2 separate regions of the Homo sapiens genome follow, and region 1 is linked to region 2. The links are contacts of gene promoters, found by promoter capture Hi-C in blood cells and fetal thymus (Javierre and others, 2016). All regions are on one chromosome and are shown on one strand. Each heading gives the region's core, a stretch centred on a gene start or on the middle of the fragment in contact. The rest is flanking DNA. Distances are from core to core; before and after follow the strand shown.

What was found. Contacts are between HindIII fragments. The CHiCAGO score rates a contact against its expected background, and 5 or more counts as called.
Region 1: a contact is called between a fragment that was not itself captured here and the fragment with the promoter of PRR16 in region 2, in 1 of 17 cell types (non-activated CD4 T cells). The highest score is 6.0, in non-activated CD4 T cells.

What each region holds. Positions count from the first base shown.
Region 1 is chr5:117,455,064-117,461,076 of GRCh38, forward strand. It overlaps LOC124900192, which reads left to right. Exons shown (of 2, transcript XM_047417986.1): 1 at 1-391. The coding sequence starts at 46. The region is part of intron 2 of LINC00992 (long intergenic non-protein coding RNA 992); the gene reads left to right. Among named protein-coding and RNA genes, the nearest start is that of LINC00992, 43 kb to the left of the region's middle. The HindIII fragment of the contact is 4,604 bases long and covers 1-4,343 here.
Region 2 is chr5:120,461,393-120,466,938 of GRCh38, forward strand. It overlaps PRR16 (proline rich 16), which reads left to right and starts at 2,908. Exons shown (of 2, transcript NM_001300783.2): 1 at 2,908-3,253. The coding sequence starts at 3,095. RefSeq lists a silencer at 2,827-2,876 and an enhancer at 3,282-3,783. The HindIII fragment of the contact is 2,017 bases long and covers 1,728-3,744 here.

The DNA of each region.
Region 1 (6,013 bases), core at 792-3,291, 3.0 Mb before region 2:
TCTCAGCCTCAGGTACTCCAGTGACAAGCAGCAGCACCAGTGCTGATGAGGGTAGCAGGGAAAACTGGTGAAATGTGCCGAGGTCTCTCCAGAGGTGGTAGGCGGTTGCGCCAGCTTCACATCCTGGATAGGCAGGAACGTTTCCCTATCATACTCCTGTCCCGGGTCTCATGTGTCTCAGTTCAAACAGACACTGCCGTCTATCTTCAAGCTGCAATGAAGCTGAGAGCCACAGAAAACACCTGTACCATGGTTTCAGGGAGGAGTCTCTTCCCTCAGCCGAAAACAGACAGCTTTGCTGGTCATCTGTTCTCCACTGCGAGGACGCTGCCACTCAGTGTGGAGAGAGGAAGGGGTTCTGCCTATGGTGCAAGAAGGTCGGACTCGGCAGGTAGGCACACCACCAATATCATTGTAGCTGCTCCTGATAGTCCTGTATTGGCTGTCCACAGGCATCCACGGCTTTGTCTGCAGCAGTGGGCAGTCGGGAAGGAGAAATCCTCCTCTCTACTACTGTGCCTGAGCACTGGGGCTGCCTGACCACTGGGGCTAAAAAACACTTCCCCCCAGAGCACTGAGCATGGTGCCCATTTCTCTGCTGGAAGGGGTGCTGTCACCCTCAGTCCCCAAGCAGGAAACTCTTGGGCACGGGAGAGCATACGCTCTGGCTTCGTTTGTCCCATGGGGCACTCCCTAGGCGCGCTGCACTCTCCCTTCCCCTAGGGGCAGCATACCCTGAGGTTCAGACCACCGGGAATTCTGCAGCTACCTTAGGTACATCTGGCCCCATGTGTGGCTGCTGCAATCTAAGCAGGTGCTAGGGAATGTCTGCGGGGGATCTGGTGATGTGGAGACACGAAGGCTGAGATTTTCTGGGCAGGACAGAGGACCACAATGATGCACACTCAATATGGCGCTTACCACTGCAGCTCAGGTCTGGGGAGAGGGTGAGCAACTTTACACAAGCTGGTAGCCTGGTGCAATGCCCTCAGTAAATTAACAAATCACCACCCACACCGGTCCTTGGGCTAGGGCCAGCAAAGGAGCTCTCCTACAGCTCGGAAACCCAGTCTGCCACAGCTGTGAGTGGAACGCAAAACACCGCACCTACCCTTTCCACCAGACTCCAAGTTCCTTGGGGTTCAATCTCTGCCACACTCTTCCTTCTTTTTTCTGTGCCCTAGCTTCTTTCTGTGAGTTCTCCAATAGGTTCTGGCACTCTCTCCTTAATCTTCTATTCAACTTACGATTATTCATCTGTAACTTTGGTTCTTTCTGAGGAGAACTGGCATCTGACATCTCAACTCAGCCATCCTGAGAGGGCAGAATTTTGATAAAATTAATAACACTATTTTCTCCCTTTACTCTGCATCTCAAGAGAATGAAGCGGAGTTATGACTTTTTCAACAGAATCATAAACTTCCGTACGCCATTGAGGAATAAGGAGCATATTCCTTCAGCACCAGATTTACCTTTCTTCTTAGTGGCCTGATTTTGATGCTGCTTTTTTGGATTAAAAAAAAAAATCATTCACTTTGCAAATGGGATAATGAAAAGTATACACCTCAATTTCTTTTTGGGATTCAGTGGATCTTAAGAGAAATCAAGTTTCGATGTGATCAATGCCCCAGAAAACAGAGGTGCACTTACAGGGACATGCTAATGCTCTTGGTGATCCTTCTGTAAGATGCGAATGGTCATTTATTCCTCTCTTGTCTGAAAAGTCCTTCCTTAGGTGCCTAAATTACTCTTAGAGGTGCATCGCCAGCCCAGGAGAAACAGACTTCTGAGACAAGGCTATCTTTTGTTCTGTAATTTAGGGGATGTTTTGAAAAAGCCCCTGAAGTGAAATGTTCCCTTAACCTGCTCACAACATTGTCTTACATTTTTCATTAAAATGATTTTCTTCAACATAAGTTTTGATTTCCAGGAGGCTAGTGTTACAGTTTTAAGTGACTTTCTTTGAATGTCCAAAAACGCTTTAAGTGGAAAAACAGATGTTTTAGTTCTTTCTGTTGAAACCACCAACCAAACACTATTCAGATCAATGCATCTTCTCTAAGAATTCTATATTTAGCCCATTATTATGCATCGGGGCATGCATTAAAATCTTTTTCTTCCATTTTCAGACTATTCATATTTTAGGATTCTGGACTAAAACGTAAACCTATCTTGTTTTCATACTTCCACGTGCTTCTGTTATAAATAAACATGTCCCTGTTGTCAGTTTCAGCTCCACTCTACAGCTTATCTGTGGCTGACCCCCTCCACCTCTGACTTATTGGATCCTCATGAGGTCTCCACATCTTGATTTCTGAATAAGGCCTATCCCAAAAGATCCATCAGTAGTTATGTCATTGCTAACTCACAGTTACATCCCTAAAGTTCATGCCAACAAAATAAGCAATTGGATAAAATTATACTGGGGGATGGAGTAGAAAGCAAGTCCATTGGGATTTTACATTTTAGAAATGTGAAAGTAAAAAAAAGAGAAAATGTTGTCAATTGGTCGTAAGAATGGGACAGACTAAACAACACAAATGTCATTTAATCTTCTTTAAAAATAATCCATTTATGTTATACGCATTTTCATGAGTTTTGATATATGACTTTTAATGGCAATTTTTAGTAGTTTTAAAATATTCATCTAGCCTAAGTAGATTATGCTTGATTTGATCACTTCTATATTTGTGGTTGTATTGATTTTCTTCAGTTTCTTAAAGATAAAATTTATTGCAATAAAAATCTAGTTCTGCATATAAGTAGTCCTCTTCTGTGGAATTATGACTTTAGGAAATATATTCCCAAAGGTGGAATTACTGACTCAAATTGGATAAACATTTTATCTCTTACTACATATTGTTTCTTATAAAGCAGACAGCGGTGTTCAACTGTATTAGTTTCACTACAGTCTCACAAACTTTGAATGTTTTTATTTAAGCAATTGTTTTATCCATAGAAGAAGAATACAGTGTGTCCTGAAAAAAAAAATTTATTTTTTTATTTCTTCAATAATGGACAGAATGCACGTTTGCCATGTTTTTATAATCACTGCTTATATAAACTGTTTGTTCATATCCTTTGCCTTATTTAATATGAAAAGGAAGACTCTAAAAATACTGTAATAATCACAATATAAACACTTTGGAAATCCTGTCTGATGCAAATGTTTTCCTAACATTATTTTTTTCTTAGGCGCTTTCGTTTGTATGAAATTTTTATTATTTTATATATGTTCATGTTATCCTGTCAATAATTTCTTTCTATTTTTTAATCTCTGCTCTTCCTCACTGCTAGAGATTGGCATGCCCTTGGATGAGTTCTGTATTTATCATCTCTTCTATATCTGTTGTCATTTATAGGTGATTTCACTTGCATCTCACCCCTTTGGCTTTAAGTATCATTTATATGCAGATGATTTTTATATTTTTATGCCCTGACTCTACTTCTCCCCTGAGTTTCACACACATGTCCAACCAGCTACTCTTCGTCTCTACTTATACGTTTATCTCAAACTTAAGATATCTAAAGTAGAATTTTTGATTCCGTTCTCTAAACCTGTTTCTCCCCACTCTATCTCATCTTAGAAAATAGGTCTATACCTATTTTTGTAAGTCAAAATCTAGCATTGGTTTGATTTCATTCTTTCCCTCAACTTCACCTCTAATCGTCAATAAAGACTTTCATATTACTTCCATTTTTCCCCAACTCCATACTAGCTGAAACACCATCATTGTCTACCTAGGATACCAAAAGAATGACAATCTGGCCACCCTGCTTCAACTCTTGTCCCCTAAAATATGCAAGCAGATAGCGGAGTCAACCCTTTTACTTCCATAGATCAAATCACATGATCCTTCTGTGTAAAACTTTCCAATGTCTTCTCACCCCATGTAGAAAGCAATCCAAATCTCTTGCCCTGGCCATCCAAGGTCTAGATAGCTACACATTATGAAGCTACACTTACCTCTTAATTCATGCAATTTTAGTTCTTGTTCATTTCTCTGTACTCACATGGCACTTTGTTCTGTCCATAAAGCATGAAAAATTTGTTCTTACCCCAAGCCTTTACTCTTGCTGGACTCTGCATAAAATGCTTGTCTTTTTGATATGTGTACGACTGCCTCCTTTTTGTCACTCAAATCACAGTTCAAATATCACCTCCGTCAATTTTAATTTTGAAAGAGACTTTCTCAGAGCACTCAGCAAAAAAAAAAAAAAAAAAAAAGCTCCCAAGACACTATCTATATAGTATCATCCTATTTTGTTTTAGTAATAACACTTATTGTTTTTCTTTCTTTAACTTGTCAGTTGTTTATTTTCTATTTCACGGAAATAATAGAAGCTTCAGGAGAATCATTATCTGGCATCTCTAGCATCTTAAATCATGGAAGTAATTCAATCAACATCTGTTTGATGAATTAATGAATGAGGTTTTTTTTTTTTTCTGCTATAAATCTGAGAGTGTTATTTTGTGATGAATCCAGACACTGGTAAACTTTTTTTATTTTCTTGTTTTTCTCCACAATTTCTTTCTTAATTAAATTTTAATTTTTTGAATCAGAAATTTATTTGCATGGTTCAAGAAATTGAAGCTATAAAAAGCAGTATATTCATATCTTTCTCCCCTCCCTCTTTCTTGTCTCTTTAGTTTCATCACTCAAACAGGGGAACAACTGTTTTCAGCTTCTTACAGCACTTCCAAAGTTTGTCTATATAAAAATGACTAAAAATAAATATTTTTATTTTCTACCTTCTTTGTAAGCACTGAGGTTTCTTAACGTAAAAGCTGTGTTAACTTAGATTTTTCTTTCATCAATCATACATCCTGGATATCTTAGGAGAATTCTCATTATTTCTATAGCTATGTCACATTTTCATTGAGTAGATATATTATAATTAACATAGCCAATTCTTGTCCCCATCAATGCATATATGATTATTCCATTATTTTACATTTAATAATAATGCTGCTATGAATAACCTTGTACATACCTCATTATGCACATACATATGTCTCTAGGATATTACCCAAGTTGGAATTTCTGTGCCAAGAGGTATATGCCTTTGTACTTTTCATAGATGTTGCCAACTTGCTTTTCATAAATCTTATACAAATTACATGCCCATCAGCGATATATGATAATAACTGTTTCCTCAGAACTTTGCCAATGGGAAGTTTTAGCACTTGAGTTTTTGCCAATCTAATAGATAAAAATGGAATAATTTATCTTATGACTGATGAGAGAACATCTTTAAATATGTGTAAAAGCCATTTTTACTTTTTTTTTTACAAACTACGTTCTTTGCCAAATTTTTCAATTTGATTCATGTATTCATTCAATAAATATTTATTATGTGGCAGGTAGTGTTCCAGATACTTGAGATATAGCAAGTATATAGATGAGTTATATATTGCAAATAGACTTATGTTTATATGTTTGACTTTGCTTGTGTTTTCTTACCTTTTGGCCATGCAATGGTTTTGTTAGGTAATTGAATTTCTACTTTCTTTCTAAACCTTGTCTAGGAAGCTTCTGCTGCCACTGTGATACAAGTCATAGTTTTTGCATTACTGAATGAATGACTCCTCATCTTTAGGAAGTATATTTTTCTGGTGCCTTTAAAGTGCTGCCACTGCTGGGTCTTGCTTCACTCTCTTTTTTTTTTTCTTCTTCTTCTTCTTATGCAGCTTCTATAAATTTCTCCTAATTTCATTTTAAATGGGGTGCATGGAAAAGATATTTATTGCTTTTATATAATTTCCAGGAAGAACAGGTTGGCAGGAGAAGTTGATATAGACAACCATGTTCATACCAGAAGTCTCTACTTACATTTTTTTTAATAAGACATATGTAATTATAACCCTATAATAGGCATTGTCACAAAAAGTAGTCAAAAAAGTTTTGGGGGTTTCCACAGTGGCCAGCTGGGAGAAGTGATGTAGGAAAAATTTATTCTTCAAAGGTCATTGATATTGGAAGTGAATTATCCAATCAGAATACTATTAAGA
Region 2 (5,546 bases), core at 1,658-4,157:
AATGATGAATAGAGAGACAGGGAGAATAAAATCCTGGGTTTGCAATCACTTCTATAAATGAGTAAGACTCTCCTTTATTTAGAAATGTATTATCCTGTCTAAGTTTATAAGTAATGTGGTTTGGTTGTGTACATTTGCAGCTAGCACTAGTACATTAACGAACTTACAGAAAGATTTACCAGAAATTTTATTAGGTGTCACTTTTGCTGTTTGGTCTCTATAACTGGAGTCTAAAACATCCTATATACTGATCTCTGAGAGAGTCTAGGATTACCCAAAGGAATGAAAGATTTTTCCATAGGGTAATACAAAAATAGGAAGTAAATACACTTGATTTATATTCATGGGCCCTTTTTATTCTGTCTTCTTCTCCTCAATATTTATAATTCCCTTTATAAAAGTTTCTTCTTTAGACATATTTTATGGAGATTTGCTTTAAGTGATCCTTAATGACTAGAAGATAGGGACAGACACCACTGCTGCAATCCTACCAGCTTTCTCAGTTTGGGCCTGGAAGCCAATTTTAACTTTTCCCTATTCAGTTAACTCTATATTGTATAAAGACATAGATAGATAGATGATAGTGATTATTTCAGAGTGAACTGTGATATGGGTGTGGGTGGTGTGTTTCTAAGCAATAATTATGATTTGATTTTAAGTCAGAATTATTTGTTTCAGTAGCAGCAGTGGATATCAGAGTATCAGAAGAGAACAGTTTTTTTTGTTTTGTTTTTGTGACGGAATCTCGCTCTGTCACCCAGACTGGAGTGCACTGGCACGATCTCAGCTCACTGCAAGCTCCACCTCCCGGGTTCAAGCAATTCTCTGCCTCAGCCTCCTGAGTAGCTGGGATTACAGGCTCCTGCCACCATGCCCAGCTAATTTTTGTATTTTTAATAGAGATGGGGTTTTGCCATCTTGGCCAGGGTGGTCTTGAACTCCTGACCTTGTGATCCACCCATCTCGGCCTCCCAGAGTGCTGGGATTACAGGCATGAGCCACTGTGCCTAGCCTGTTTTGTTTTTTTTTTTTTAATCTTTAGTGAATGAGATTCAGAGTAGCATGGACATCTTCTTATATTGTGGGAGGATTATTTTGTCACTGTGAGGGAAATCACAATTTCCTTTCCTCCTCTCCCATATCCTTGTCTAAAGTCACTTAACTTTGAGTTTGGCGGCTTTCTTACACACTTGCCTACTATTAAGAGTCAAAAATAATTCCAATCTAGAAGAATAGTACTTTCTCTTTTCCCCTACCATTAGCTTTTGCTAGTTTTGACAATTTTGGGGAGTCTGTAAACCTGATATAATTATTTTAATGTTATATTTTTTATAAAATAAAGAATTTGAGGAGAAAAAGGATGTTTTAAAAATCTAATTCTCCCTACCTCAGAGAACTCAAGCATATTACTTATTTCACACTTTTAATCATTTCTTCTCTTTTTCTTTTCTCCAGTTTGCATGCTGCAGACTTGTTCTTATAATCTCTTCTTAAGTCTTTCCAGCAGCATCTGCTTTTCACCTTTTCTCATTTCTTCCCCTGATTTTTCAATGCAGTTTTCAATGGTTTTCTTTTGACACCACTTTCAAATTTCAATTTTTTCTTCTGTTCTCTTTCTTCCTCTATATTCCACATATGACTTCCAAAGGTTTTGTAAAGATGAATTGTCCAGGATTAAGAGAGTGATTGATTAAGAGCCTACAGAACTGGGAAGAGGAGAGCTGCCAAGCTTTTCTTTATGTGTAGCACAGTGGAGCTACCCAGAGTGTGAGAAGCAAGAAACAGAGAGCCTTGCTAAGGCACGACGAAAAGGGGAAGCCTATTAAAAGAATGATCTGGAGGAGTGTGCAGTGAAGAAAATAAAGTAGAGCCAGCCTGCTGGGTCAGTAGCTAATAGCCCATGGGTTTACAACTAAGGAAGTTAAAATTCTAGCTAATGAGAATTGTAGACACCTACTGAGAGTGAACCGAAGGCTTCCTATTAACTTCCCTTCTTGGGTCTTTTTGACAGAACAGTCAGAAAGTTGTTTCCTATTTGTTTAGTAGCAAAAGAGTTGAAATGGAGGTTTAAAAAATGATGAAAGAGAAGTTGGAGGCAATCTCTTACTCAGCTCCTTCACGAGGTCCAAATACGATGTCTCCCCCACTCCACTCAAAATGTAAATCAGCATAGGTCACAAAAAGAGGAAGGACAGTTAAAAAAAAAAAAAAGAGTTGGGCCAAATAAGACATACAGCCAAGATGACTGAGACAATCAGAGAGGATTTGGGGTGTGGGGACTTCAAATTAATAAATCCGGTATTAGCTTTGTGGAATTAGCAGGATTAGGGTACCTCTTTCAAGAACACTGGTTGAATTTCATGGTTTCAATAGATGACCATTAGCTGTTATGTGCACCCCCCCCCCCCTTTTTTCTTGCAGAAGTTAAGAAGTCTGCTTAACTCGCAGGTCACCAAGAGATTGATTAAAGGCCTCTGGACATCATTTGGGTTTGGATAAATCTGTAGGGCCACTTTACAGACTGTCTCCAACTCCTGATCCCACTGTGGTTCTTTCTGAATTGATCCAGGTCCCTGCTAGCAAGTGAAGCAGAAAGAATCCAGGCTAGTTGTGAGATGACATACAGCAAGCAGGCTGAGATGATGGGGACATTTCAGAACCAAGAGGAGGGGGCGGGCAGGACACGGACTTGTCTCCCCCACCTTGATGCCAAGGTGGCATCTGGGAGATATCTCGAAGGGCAACGTCGAGGGGACTGCAAGCGTCAACCCTGGCGCGGCAGCACGGCGCCCCTCTCCGCGGGCGGGGAGCGAGCGCGTGTGCGCGAGAGCGCCGGGCGGCGGCGGGAGGAGGCGCAGGCGCGCTGCTCGCCCGTCTGCAGCCCCGAGCCGAGCGCCGCGTCTCGGGAGTTGATGGCAGCACCACTGTGCGGCCGCCCGGCCGAGCGCGGAGCGCAGCCACTCGCCGCTGCCCAGGGAGCGCCCAAGATGTGGGGGGACCGGGGCGGCAGCGGCCGTAGCAGCGCCAGGGACGGGGGCACGCAGCAGCCTCCGCTCGCCCGCCTGTCCTGACCTGCCTCGCTTGCCCCCAAAGAATGTCAGCCAAGTCCAAGGGGAACCCCTCCTCGTCCTGTCCAGCCGAGGGACCGCCGGCAGCCTCCAAAACCAAGGTGAAGGAACAGATCAAGATCATCGTGGAGGATTTGGAATTAGTCCTGGGCGACCTGAAGGACGTGGCCAAGGAACTTAAGGAGGTGAGAGGCGCAGGGGTGGGGAGGGAGTTCGGCACCCTTCGACCCCTCCGGGGTCCCCTTTCCGATTTTCAGCAGGGACAGCCAGATTTCCAAACTCCTGGGAAACTACAGAAAAGGCGCCTGCAGACGGACTTTCTTTGCTCCTGGAGTCCTGAGAGGAGTTGTTGTTGCACTTTTTAATTTTTTTTTTTAATCAGGAAGAAATCAACTAGTGTTTTAATCGATGGACCTGGGCTGGTGGGAGGGATGAACGCACGCGTGTCTCTGAATCTGTGTGTGTGACGACGGGGGAGAGGGTTAGCTGGGGGTGTGTCGGCAGAGGAAGTCGTGAGCAGCCCGGCTGGAGCGTGCAAGATGCTCCTCTCCTGCCCTATTGCTTCCCCAGAGTCCTTTGGCAAGTCCGCTGCCTATCTGTCAGCCTCCCCAAGTCAGGGCTGAAGAGGGGCCGGGTTCTGGGCCCTGGGCCAGATCAGGGAGGGCAGCCTGGAGGAAGCTTGGCTCAGACTACCCTCCCTGTCTCTCGAGCCTCGCTGTAGGGAAGGCGACCCGGGCTGCTGGCAGCCTTGGGGCTAAGGAGGGGGTCTGGGACTTTCTCACTTTCTCAGTTTCTGAAGCATCCCCTGCTCTCCTCCGAACGTCGTTACCAGTAACTCTGGGCCTTCCCGCCACCCTACCTCTGCTTCCTTCCTTCCACCCTGTCGCCACTTGGCATTGAACCCGAGAAGCAGGACGCGCAGGAGAGTGTATGTGTGGCCGGGGTCTTGCCATTGGCGTCCTGGCTCTCTGCAGCTGGGACTGCTTCGGTTCTTCCCCGCTTTTCCTATCCCACTTCGGTTCAGCCCTACTCCCGCCCGCCCCTAGCCCCAGGTGATCCAGATGGAAAGAAGCAGAGAAGGTGTCAGGGCTGAGGCTGCGTAACTCAGGCGGCGGCTCCGGGCGGGGGCGGGGGCCGGGCTGGGAGGGGTGGGGTCTCCCGAGCCAGGCTGGCTGCCGGCGGCGTCGCGGAGCTGGTAGCAGAGTCCCAGCGCGCCGCTCACTACTGAATGGGGTCCTGGTGCGGTTCTCGGTGAGGGAGTCCGCAGCTCCGCTGCGTGAGAGCTAAGACTAGAACTTCGAAGGTGGCGGTGGCTGCAGCGGGAAAAGGGGTGGGGCGTAGTCTAGGTCCAAAATTGTAATCCTGTTTCTGAAGCCAACGGGGAGGAGACTGAGGGTTGTTTGGATGACTGGCCTCTAGAGATTAACCTCCTGTATTCAATTTCCAAACCAAATTTCAAGAGCCCCCTCGTCTTCCTCCCCTTCCCCCGTTACCTCTATGAACTGAACTCTGCATTTGTTACCTAATGCAAGTCTGTTAAAATGGGCCATTCGTCACCAGGGTTAAGTTTGCCAGTGGTAAATGTCGTTCCTGTAGGTTACTCCACAGACAGAACATAATTAGTACTGAGGTCCTGAGAGTGGCTGTTAGTATACATAGATTCAGGGATAAAACTTGTTCGTGTTTTCAGGGTTTCTGTAGGATTATTGCTTCACAACTGGTTGACAGATGGTGGGGTTATGCATTGAAATTCAATTCTAAAAATGCTGTCCCTTTCTTTGTTATTCTTTTATATGACATCTTTGGTAGACTGTGTTTTCATCTGAAACATGGCGTTTTAAAAAATGAAATTGGGCATGTTCCTTTCGGCAGAATTGTGCTTAATAGTTGGTGAGGTTTCTATGGGCGATGTGGAAAACCTACAGCGGCACAGAAACGTATTTACTGTTTTCATGAGGCTGAGACTAAAAGAAAGGTAGTTAAACAGAATTCTGCATCTGTGAGCCATACTTCCTTATGTTTTAATGTCAGTCCACTCACTTTTTTTGCACAGAATAAATGACAAGAAACTGCACATGGTCCTGGTTTTGCTTTGCATCATTATTTATGGACATTTAGAGATTAAGTAGTGAAATCTTCAACCTCCCTGTGGTTATTGGTTAGAATCACAAAAATGTAAGTCAGGAAATCTGTTGATACCACTTTCTGTGTCTTCATTACTGAAGATTTTTTAAGGTTAAAAAAAAGGTTGTTTATAAGAGGAATAAAAAGCAGAGATAATGTACAACCCAGTAGATGAAACTATCTGACAGATCTAGAGATACAATTTTGACTCAACATTTTGGAAGATTTGTTTGTCTTAAGGATCTGTTTGAGTAAAAATCTCACCATGAAACTGAAATTTATGACATAAATAATGTGATGTGATTGTTAATTACTTTTGTGTGGGTATCATCATCCTAGATTTGCACAAGAAAA